Regions from separate parts of the Homo sapiens genome. Here region 1 is linked to region 2. The links are contacts of gene promoters, found by promoter capture Hi-C in blood cells and fetal thymus (Javierre and others, 2016). All regions are on one chromosome and are shown on one strand. Each heading gives the region's core, a stretch centred on a gene start or on the middle of the fragment in contact. The rest is flanking DNA. Distances are from core to core; before and after follow the strand shown.

The links. The method cuts DNA at HindIII sites, captures the fragments that hold promoters and counts their contacts. A CHiCAGO score of 5 or more calls a contact.
Region 1: a contact is called between a fragment that was not itself captured here and the fragment with the promoter of PKHD1L1 in region 2, in 1 of 17 cell types (megakaryocytes). The highest score is 5.9, in megakaryocytes.

Annotation. Positions count from the first base shown.
Region 1 is chr8:109,404,067-109,410,380 of GRCh38, forward strand. PKHD1L1 (PKHD1 like 1) reads left to right here. Exons shown (of 78, transcript NM_177531.6): 15 at 488-647; 16 at 929-1,064; 17 at 2,269-2,412; 18 at 3,983-4,140; 19 at 5,799-5,912. Among named protein-coding and RNA genes, the nearest start is that of PKHD1L1, 45 kb to the left of the region's middle. The HindIII fragment of the contact is 661 bases long and covers 4,505-5,165 here.
Region 2 is chr8:109,358,285-109,364,124 of GRCh38, forward strand. It overlaps PKHD1L1 (PKHD1 like 1), which reads left to right and starts at 4,177. Exons shown (of 78, transcript NM_177531.6): 1 at 4,177-4,369. The coding sequence starts at 4,297. The HindIII fragment of the contact is 8,587 bases long and covers 3,072-5,840 here.

The DNA of each region.
Region 1 (6,314 bases), core at 3,585-6,084, 46 kb after region 2:
TTTTATTCCCCAAGTTACAAATGGAGCCAAATTTAAGGAATGTGAAAGTAGGAACTTCTACTCCTGACAAATATAACTACTCAGATATAAAATATATGCTATGTCTAAGCCTGCCATTTTCTTGAACACATTAAAATATTTAACCTCTGCATGTTGTCTGTGTTATATACCAGGGACAGGGTTATTTTTCAAGATGTTGAGTATAAGAAATAGTATTGTCTTCTATAAATATTTATTGACTAAGCTGAATGAATTGGTTATGAATGAGAACAACTTTCTACTAATGCAGATATCTTACATAATTCATTTTATTTTGGCAAAATGCTGTGAAAATTTTAACATTTGAATATTTAAAATATGAGATACTACAATATAAGTCATTTAACAGGCAGGCTTTTAAGATAATATTGATATTTTATTCATTAAAATAATTTCATGGCAAGTGTTCTGGAAAAAAGTTATATTCATTAGTTACTCTATTTTCCAGATACTATATTGAAATCTTGCTGCAGGAGTACAGATTAAGTGCATTTGTTGATGTTGGACTGTACCAGTATCGAAATGTTTATACTGAACAACAAACAGGAGATGCAGTGAATGAAGAACAAGTTATCAAATCCCAGTCGACAATCCTCCAGGAAGTACAGGTTTGCTATGATTGCAGTTCCTCTTACAGAAAGTAAATGTTCGAAGGCAGGATCTCAATTTGATTATTAATTTTACTAGGTAAGATACTGTTTTAGGTGAAAGCAGTCATGGACAATTATTAAATTATGACTTTGAGTATTTGTACGATAAGCCAAAAAGGCTGTTACTTGTCATTTGTAGTAAAATAGAGCAATAAAGTGGCATTGAATAGCTGAATTATGATGCTTTTAAGATATATATATTTTTCATATATTAAAAATGTTTCTTAATTGGAAAATAGGTTATAACATTGGAAAACTGGGAAACAACTAATGCAATTAATGAGGTTCAGAAGATCAAGGTAACCAGCCCATGTGTGGAAGCTAATTCATGTTCACTTTACCAATATAGATTAATCTATAATATGGAAAAAACTGGTAAGTTATAAATAATAAGGGAGATACTGTTTCTGTTCATGTATAGATGTAGTCATAAAGTATTTGCTGTAGTCAAATTACACTGTCTGGAAAATATAGTTTTGATGATATGCTAGACAAAGAAGCAGAAAAATGTATTATGGAAAAAAGCCTTCAGACTGGGATAGAAAATGACATCCATACAAATAACTTTGTGGCATATACCATCATTTTCTAATAATAATGATAAATATATATCTAAATGCACATGGAATTTATATATTTGCTACTCATAGGTGTAAGTTAAGAAAATAGGAATTGTGAATAGTCAACCCAAATGCCCGTCAATGATAGACTGGATAAAGAAAATGTGGTACACCATAGAATACTATGCAGCCATAAAAAGGGATGAGATCATGTCCTTTTCAGGGACATGGATGGAGCTTAAAGCCACTTCCTCAACAAACTAACTCAGGAACAGAAAACCAAACACTGCATGTTCTCACTTATAAGTGGGAGCTGAACAATGAGAACACATGGACACAGGGAGGGGAACAACACACACTGGGGCCTGTTGGGGGGTGGGGTCGGCACGGGGAGGGCATTAGGTTAGGAAAAATAGCTAATGCATACTGGGCTTAATACCTAGGTGATGATGGGTTGATAGGTGCAGCAAACCACCATGACATACGTTTACCTATGTAACAAACATGCACATCCTGCACATGTACCCCAGAACTTACAATAAAAATAAAAAATTTAAAAGGAATTAAATTCATCATTGCACAGAAGTAAACATGTCTTTCAATTTTTTAAATTAAATGATAGGCCTATGGAACACCAATTTATCAGCCAATAAACAACATTGCATTTCTATATTTTACAATAAATCCTAAAATACAACTTTTGCTACTACTGTTAATTGTTTTAACCAGTAAATATTGATGATTGCTTATTCTTTGCCAAATCCAATGATTATTACTGTGGGAATATTAAAACAATAAAATATCAGCCCTGTCCTCAAAGAGATCACAAATTAATTAAATAGTCAATATTACTGAACTTGAATCAGTTTCAAAATACAATTTCTCTAAGTGATAACTTACATGGTACAGAGTATAGGTGCTTTAAAAATATAAATACGAGACATCAGTGTTGGCTGCAGTAGCTCAGAAAGATTTCAACTTTTCTGTTTGTTTGTTTGTTTGTTTTAATCCAATCAAAGTCTTCCTACCTGCTGATGCTTCTGAATTCATACTGCAATCAGCCTTGAATGACCTCTGGTCTATAAAACCGGACACAGTTCAAGTAATAAGAACACAAAATCCCCAGAGCTATGTCTACATGGTAACATTCATATCAACTAGAGGTAAGCATGTACTTAATTTTGTACTTCTGTAGGAAACAAATGTATATCCTGTGCCACTCTAAAAGTTCCATAAGATGACAGAGAAAAAGACTTGGTTAATCTTAGGAGAAGCAGAAATTAAATGGTTTTTTCTACGGTAATTTAAATTTTAGTTGTATTTCAAGGAATGTACAACTCTAATGCATGAGAAATGCACTATACATACTACAAATGCGTTTTCCATATAATAGCCTACTTTATAAATTAGTAAAAACTAGTGAAAATATTCATTCTGAAAATAAAATTTAGGCAAATCACTATTGTCCAGGAGACACTCATCTGGTCAAATCTTGCCTACTGAAAGGATTTTGAGGTCAAATTCACATGGGAGACACTGTATACCATGGGTCTTCCTTGAAGATTGACAGAGCTCATTGGAATATTAAAATCCCTGAGGAGTCCTGCAGTATTAAAAAAAAAAGGAAAAAGAAAAAAATCAATTTACCTGTGTTTAATGCAAACGTATTTTATATTTCCATCTTTTTTCAAGTAATAGCTATTAACCGCCTATTAATGTTTTACACAAAACACTTTTGGAAATATTGACATAGACATTCTGCCTTCAAGTCAGACTTCGCAACTAATTTGGCTTTTTGGTATATTTAGCTCAGAAAGTAGGTCCCTGAATGTGTGTGTGTTTACTTTTCTTTGGGCAATCATTGTTTTTCAATATGTAAGTAAAATGTTACTTCAATATTTATGTCTCACTTTATGTAATTGTTTATTTGATTGTTGAGTGGAGGATAAAGAATTTGATTTTACATGAATTTAAGTTTTAAAAAGTGTACAAAAGTTAGATTGTCAAAATACTTATGAATAAACATATGGATATCCTTTTTGATGTATTTTTATACATCAGAGAGAAATTTTAAGGCTTCAGCAGAAACCTTAAGAAATATGGTGCCCAAATCCTAACTGGGCAAATTTTAAGACTTTACCCAACAAAAAGGGTCAAAAAGATCAATGAGATTCCACTGGTAGAGCATCCTTTCAAAGAAGAGAGACATTTGAGGACAGGCCTTATTCCTCTCAAAGTGGCAAAGCCAATGATTATCATACTAAGTGGCATGGTATGAACAAACCTCACAGATCAGAGATTGTTTCCTGGAATTCAGCTTTGTGCCCTATTCATGTCTAAAGAAAATAGAAATATTCCAGCTGAGCATTTGCACTAAAATAATGGTACTAGCACAAAACTAAAAGAATTTTTGGAATATCCTACTACTCATTGATCTTTATTCATGGTCCTAATACATCTGTCTATCTTACAATACTTCCTTTTAAGCTATAGAAACAGCACCTTAAATATATAGCACTTTGTCTGCTTTGCTATTTATGCTATGGATAAATCTGCTCAAATTTTAAGGATCTACATCGCCCCCATTCTTCCTTCTTTTCTGATAATGGAGCACCAAATGAAACCAATTTGGCTACATTTGAGTGTCTATTAAATATATATAAAATATATAGTTTTATATATAGGCATTTTATTAGTTAATGTCTACAAATTCTGTTTGTCACTTAATTTCAGGAGACTTTGATCTGCTTGGTTATGAAGTAGTTGAAGGGAATAATGTCACACTGGATATTACAGAACAAACCAAAGGAAAACCCAACTTGGAGACATTCACACTGAATTGGGATGGGATCGCTTCTAAGCCACTCACTCTATGGTCATCAGAAGCTGAAGTACGGTGTAGGAATGTTTCTACCACGCATTTTCCCTGCACCCTCTCACATCATTCATGGGCCATTTGTAGACAGATGGGAAAGAGATGTTACTTCAAAAAAAATCACTGCAAATTATTTATCACCTGATCAACTCACCACAATTTATATACTGTGATACTTTTATCTGAAAGGAGACTAAGAGTCAACCTAGTGCAGCCACCTCTTTTTCCAGACAAGGCATATCTCAAAGGTTCCAAAGCCTTGCCCTGCCTATGTGTAGAAGCTTTGAGTCCCTCTATGCACACTGGAGTTGTTCTTCACTCAACATCCAATTTGTTATCCTGTAAAATCAGAAATTCCTTGAGAGATGTAGTGCAATAAAAGCTTAGCTATAAAGTATTGGTTAGTTTAAATATCCTATTATTTTATTGATGTATTTTTATACATCAGAGAGAAATTTTAAGGCTTCAGCAGAGACCTTAAGAAATATGGTACCCAAATCCTAACTCAGCAAATTTTAAGACTTTACCCAACAAAAAGGGTCAAAAAGATCAATGAGATTCCACTAGTGGAGCATCCTTTCAAAGAGGAGAGACGTTTAAACAGAACACCATTTAAATGTCAACCTTTTATAAAGAACACTTTAAGGAGGAGTAATACATTCTTCCATTTGGCGTGATAGGTTGGAGCCTACCCGTAGTGAGGAGAGAAGGGAGGAAATATTCCAAAGACAAGAGAAGGAAAGGGAAGATCTTAGGTCTGTGCCAACAGGGCCTAATGTATCTCCATAGGGGGCAGCCATTCATAAAGAAAGAATGCTTGTGAGTTACAACATTTTGACAACTATCTGGACAATGAATTTAAGTTAAAATCTGTTTGCAGATTAAAGAGTATATATTGTCTCAAGCCCTTAATTCTAAGCGACAATTATTTCTGTGCTTTGCTGGAGAAAATGATATGGAAATTTTAGGAGACTTGTGAATATGTACTAATTTCTGCATAATCTGCAATAATTTATTATTTTTTGAATAATTATAAATACAAGCTTACAGTATATGCATGTAACCTTTTTTTTTTTCAAGACGGAGTCTCACTCTGTCACCAGGCTGGAATGCAGTGGTGTGATCTCCACTCACTGCAACCCTCCACCTCCTGGGTTCAAGCGATTCTCCTGCCTCAGCCTCCTGAGTAGCTGGGACTACAGGCGCTTGCCACATGCCCAGCTAATTTTTATATTTTTAAAAGAGACAGGGTTTCACCATGTTGGCCAGAATCCATTGGCGTGTATAGTTTTTTTTTTCCAGTTAATTTTGAGTTATTTGGAAAAAGTATTTATTTGGAATCTATCTAATTGGGTACTAATTAATTTAGGTTTGCTTCATTGCTCTCTTTAAAAAGGTACTAAACAAATATGTCTGCCTTATAACTAAGTATGCTATTATTAGCCAATTGTATGTAACTATTGTTATTCTAGAATAAAAGTCTTGAAAACTCATTAGACACTAAAATTATCACACTAACTTAAAATTATTTAGAAAATTAACTCATAATCATGACTAAAATATGGGAATTATGAAAATGTCCTATTAAAACTAATTAGTAGAATCAGTAGTAGGATTACGAGTGTTCTAACTTTTCATGAAAAGAAGTTACTAATGTTTATATTGTTAATTTAGTTTCAGGGAGCAGTGGAAGAAATGGTTAGCACTAAGTGTCCACCACAAATTGCAAATTTTGAAGAAGGATTTGTTGTGAAATATTTCAGAGACTATGAAACTGATTTTAATCTGGTATGAAATATTTAATGAACTGTGAAACTGACCTAATAAGAATTTATATAATGGTTTTAAATTTTATAATTTCTCTTCTGAAGTAGCATTAATAACTTTGTTATTCACAGTCAAATTGCAAAAATGACTTTGTTATACATTTGTTGTAAGGGCTGTTGGTAGGTGCTATTGGTACTGCCGTCTATGATTCGTTTGTTAAAAAATTTTTACTACTCATGAATTTTCTTGCTAGAAAGTAGGAAAGCTGATCAAAGGTAAGATTTGCAGTGTTTTTGTTTATTTTGTGTATAGGCCATTGTTGCGTTGCTATAAAGAAATACCTTAGACTGGGTAATTTAGAAAGAAAAGAGGTTTAATTGGCTCACAGTTCTGTAGGCTGTACAGGAAGCATGATGCTGGCAT
Region 2 (5,840 bases), core at 2,927-5,426:
TAAGCTCCACGAGGACAGAGATTTTTCTTAATCACTGCCATTTTCTTAATGCCTACAATACTGAATATATGTTAAAGGCAAACTATTGTTTTCCAAGTACCTAATTTTGTTCACCATCTTTCACTAATAGGTCTGGTTTTGAAATTAGGCCCGAGTTGAGTGATACATTCACAATTAAATTCCTTATTCCCTCTAGTTCTGCAAGAATTTCTATCAATCCCTTATCATTTTCTTATTGCTTTTAGGTCAAGGGACCAATAAGTTTAAAAACAGTCTCTTTTTTCACCATATGGGCCAGTAGAACAGACTACATAATTTGTGAGGTCTCATGCAAAATGAAAAGGGGAAGTCCCTTGCTCAAAAAATATTAAGGATCCCAAGATGACAGCAGAGTATTAAACCGAGTATGGGCCCTATGAGATTGCACAGGTCACACTCACTATCCTGGCCCTTTAGGCAGGGTTTTGTTAGAGCTAGATTTTTGAAAACCTGCAAAAGAAACGCGGGCTTTAATGATCAGGATTCTACTTTCATGTTTTCTCATGTCCATGATGAATCTATGTTGCAAAGGTTTGAAGATTGTAAAAATGAACACAAATTAAATCATAAATTACATCAACTACATAACTGCTTTTTCTGGATCCAAGTTGACATTTTGGTTATATGAATCTCCATCTAGTTACAATTATTTATTGGGACATTATCCCATCCAATTATTTTAATAATTGAAGACCAAAATTCTCACTGGTGTGATCTTTTTTAGGACATTTATTTATCATATAAATAAGCACTACTTAAAGGGAAAAATCAGTTAAAGATGCTCATTCATTCCACAAAAATTTATTAAAAATTTATATATGCAAATTATGGGGCTTTTTTTTTAGGCATTATAAGACAAGAAAGAAGGCTAATTTACCAGAAATCAACTTTCCTGAAGCTAATTGGTCCAATGATCATTTTGCTGAATGACTAATGTGCTAAATTTGCCAACTTAGATGACTGTAGTTTAATAGTATTTACTAGCTTTAATATGATTGTTTAATGTGAGTGACTAATGGTGATACATACAGAAAAACATTATATATATGTATAATATTGAATACATATGTACGTATATAATATGTATACCTAATACATACTTTATATATATTTTACTTATTCTAAGAAGACTAAGTGTGAAAGAAAGTGAAGCTATCTGAAAGAAACTAGTATAATAAACCATGCAATTAGTATGTGTTAAGTAGAAAAATAAAATAGGACACAATAGAAGTAACCAAATTATATTTTGGATGTTGCATGCCATTTGCTGGTTGATATACTATCTAAAAATTTGGTGAAAAAAATCTTTTAAAAGTTTGGCAAAACAGAAGTCAACATAAAAAATTTGAAGCACTTTATTGATACACTCAATACTTAAGAAAGTTTTCCTCTTTGTTATAAATTATATGAATTGTATCTGCAGGGAAGTCTGCCTAATTTAATGGTTTCTCATTAAAAATTACAACTTCAGTTTATAATATGGTAAGGATTCCCAACCCCCAGGCCGTGGACTGTTACCGTGGCGAAGTATATACTGTTACATACTTTACCTTTATAGGCACAATTTTCAGTAGCTGATGACATGGAGAGGGATTCCAAAAATTTATGAGATGAATATAACTAGATAGCAAAATTATTTACTTTTCTTTTTCAGTTCTTTTTTTCTTTCTTTCTTTTTTGGACACAAAGTCAGTCTCTGTCTCCCAAGCTGAAGTGCAGTGGCGCCATCATGGCTCAGTGCAGCTTCGACCTCTGGGACTCAAGTGATCTGCTCACCTCAGCCTCTTGAGTTTCTGGGACTACAGGAATGCACCACCATGCATGACTAATTTTTAAAAATTATTTACTTTTTAAATTTTTTATAGAGATGGGGGTCTCGCCTTGTTGCCCAGACTGAAAATTATTTTCTTAACCCCACTAGACAGATATAAACTCCTCAAGAATAAGGGCCTAACTTCACTTATTTTAGGATTCTTTCTTCTATTTCTTCTCTCTTCTTTCCCAACTAGAGTTGTCAGATTTAGTAAATAAAATTATGGAAAGCTGAGTTAAATTTGGATTTCAGATAAACTCTGAACAATTTTTAGCATATGTATGTTCTAAATCTTGCTTGGAAATACTTAAAACTGGAAAAAATAATTTGTTGCTTATTTTAATTTCAAATTTACCTGGGTGGCCTGTATTTTATCTGTCAACCTTACTCCCAACCTCTACCTTTCCTCCATCCCCCAGCAAGTACTTAGAACAGACCCTGGAACACAGATGGCCTTGTATGATAGATGAATGAGTAGGTGGACAGTGACCTTGAACAAGGAGTTTACTAAAACAGGCAACTCTTTCAAGAAGTTTAATAACAAGTAAACTAGAGAGTTTGCCTCAATTAAGAAGAAAAGAAAGGATTTTTGGTTTGTGTTTAGTTTTTTAGTAATGAATACTGTATATCTTTCTAGGAAAAGAGGAGAAAGGGGAAAGTGAAGTAATTAGAAGTGAGATAAGGGGGATATTGTTAGAATAATAATCAGTAAGATGGGAAGAGAAGAGTTTTCACAAAGAGTTCAAAGAGGGGATTGACCATGTCATGGAAGAAAAATACTTCTTCCCGAAAGAGAGGAACAAAAGGAAAGGAAGGAGGGAAGGAAGGAAGGAAGGGAGGGAATGAAAGAAAGAGAATTTAAAATTTTCTACTTATAAAAATTTTTAAACTAATAAAAAAGTGCAAAGGATCATACCTACACTTAAATTCAAACATTGTTTAAAATTTGCCAGATTTTTTTTCAGCAAAACCATTTTGAAGTAAATTCCAGACATAAAGACACTATGACCCCAAATACCTCATCATGCAATTCCATCACTTGAAAACACTCTTTGACTAAAGTATGATACCACTATTATACCTAATAAAATGAACGCTTCTATAATATCTTTCAATACTTGTTACTTAATCCATATTCACTTTCCCTAATTTGTTCTGCAAACGTCCTTCATAGCTTTATATTATTATTATTATTTTTTACAAACCAGGATCCAATAGAAGCTTATGCATTGCTATTTGGGTAATAATCTTTTAATATCTTTTAAAAACACATAACATTTTAAAATGTAGAAACTGCAAACTAGGTAGGTGGATCTTCTCATCTTTTTTTGTTGTTTGTTTTTGAGACGGAGTCTCACTATGTCGCCCAGGTTGGAGTGCAGGGGTGTGATCTCAGCTCACTGCAACCTCCGCCTCCCGGCTTCAAGCAATTCTCCTGCCTCAGCATCCCAAGTAGCTAGGATTACAAGGCATGCGCCACCCCACCAGGCTAATTTTTGTATTTTTAGTAGAGATGGTGTTTCACCATGTCAGCCAGTCTGGTCTCGAACTCTTGACCTCAAGCGATCCGCCCACCTCGGCCTCCCAAAGTGGTGGAATTACAGGCGTGAGCCGCTGTGCCCAGCCCCTTCTCACCTTTTAAAGAGTAGGGAGAGGTGGGCAATCAAGAGATCCTGAGGTTAAGATATTAAGAACAGTGAGAGGATTTGGAATTAGCCCCTGGGGAGCATTCAGTGGTGAATAATAAACTGCCTTCTCCAGGGAGGTCAGAGAAACTTGCGTTTCATTCGTCTGCTATCTGGCATCCCAGAAACAGGTCAGCAGTGCTGGACCTCCCTCCATGCCAACAGTAAGCCTTCGCCCTAAGTCTACTGATTGTCAATTAAAGAGAGAGCACAATCTCATATGAATGTGAAGGGGTAAACACGCGTGGGGTTTGTGTATTAGGTGGTCTTATAGGCCCACCTGGGGAGGATTAATGACCAAGGCAGACAGGCAGATGAAAGTACGCGGGGAAAGAGAGAAAAGAAAAGAAAAGAAAAAAAACAAAAAGAAAATAGAGAAGGAGACCTAGGGAGACCTCAATGACCATTGATTCCTTTCGCCAAAAGGAGTAAGGCCCTTCCACCTATGGGGACAGCCTTGGGAAGGCAGCACCCAGGTTTGAGTGTGGAGGTTTGATTATCACGGACTGGCTCGGGGCCGGCTTGGTTCTCCCGCGAAGGTTCCAGGGTGTGTGTGTGTGTGTGTGTCCGCGCGCGCATGCAAATCCCAGAGGAGCAGCCCGACAGCAGGGGCGGGGCAGGCCACGGGAGGGCGGCCCAGTTCCCCAGCTCTCCCGGGACGAAGCGGGCCCGCCAGCGAGTCGCAGTCCCAGGAGCCGAGCTCCAGCACTAGAGCCAGCTGCGAGCGGAGGGCACCAACTCCGCAGAACTGGCTTTTCAATGGGACACCTGTGGCTCCTGGGTATTTGGGGCCTCTGTGGGCTGCTCCTGTGTGCCGCGGATCCCAGCACAGGTAACCCTTTGGGCACGCTAGGCAGGCAAGCAGGAGAGGCCCGCGTAGACACTACCCCTGCTCCCGGGGTCCTGGGAGAGGCAGGACCACCTGGCACCTGGCTGAGGCTGTGGGTGCGGTTGCATGACGATCCTGGGGACCAGGGGAGCTGGATAGCAGGCCTAGCAAACAGAGACAGACGCAGAGAGAGAGAAACAGAGACAAGGACACAGAGAAAGAGATTGCGAGAGATTGCCTTTTAACTCATCAATGCTGCTACTTGAATGATGAAATCTCCCACCGGCACCCACAAAGTGACACAAGTAGACTGAAATTTGGCGGGGGAGTGGGGACTGGGAAGAGGCAACCTGAGTCCCTTTTCCTCCATTCTTCTTGGGTCGCTTTCCTCACAACAGAAAGGGCAACAACCCCCAGTAGGACGGGGATGGGACTTCGTGGCAGGTGTCAGTCATTTCCAGGGGCAGCTGCCCTGTGTTTTCAAAGTAATACCCAGAAGAGGGCTGGGAAGAGACTGATAAGATAAGAAATTGGAGTTGTCTGTGGAGATAACAGGAGGATGAACCTGAGATAGGCGAGGAGCAGCACTGTCTGGAGATAGGATCCAGCTTCCCCGCTGGAGTTTCCTACTCTTGGGCTGCCCTGAGATATGAATGTGCGGGAATAAGAACACCTTGGAGCTCTTGGCAAAGACAGACCCGAGGTACAGAGGCACTGGGTCTGGGGCCTCGGAACTGGTCTCCTTTATGTTGGAGAGCTTTTGCTACTATAGGTGAAGTCCACTCTAAACCTTTTTAAGACAGAACTGAACAAGCCAATCATAATTCCCTTAGCCTTTTTATATACATCCATTTTGAGAAATTAATAATTTCTGTGGCCTTTCTTTGTATCATCCCTTAAATTTTTCTACCTACTGTGAAAATTTCTTTTAGGATTCCAGCAATTACTAGATCTGTACAGTGTAAGCAGAAAATAAACACCTCTATCCACTGTGTAGCTTTGAGTTGTTTTAAAGAATTATTTGCAATACTCCAAAGAAGCAGCTCACACAATCCTGTTTGCCCGGGCAGTTCCCTCTATCTAGAACTATCTTTATCTTTCTGACAACTGGTCCAGTCTAATTCATATTTGTCCTTAAAAATGTGGAAGGGGCATGTCTTCTTTATAGAAGCCAGTGTGACACAAGCAGCGTGGGTGAAATGCTCCTTGAGGCACCCGTGGCCTCTATGCTCTCCTCTGTCTCTTGGTACTGTCTAACCTAAGCCTTTGGAAAGTTAGGACTGTTACACATTTATGTATCTCCAGGAAGCTAACACAGTTTGTTGAATGAATTAGTGACCTTTATATTAAGAACTCACTATCATCAGGAGGCTAGAAGAATCTCAGAAATTATCTTTCCTGAAGCCACACTCCCTCACAGAAAATAATTTCTTCTCAAAACCAACATTTCTCTTTGTACCTGGTCTAGTCTTTC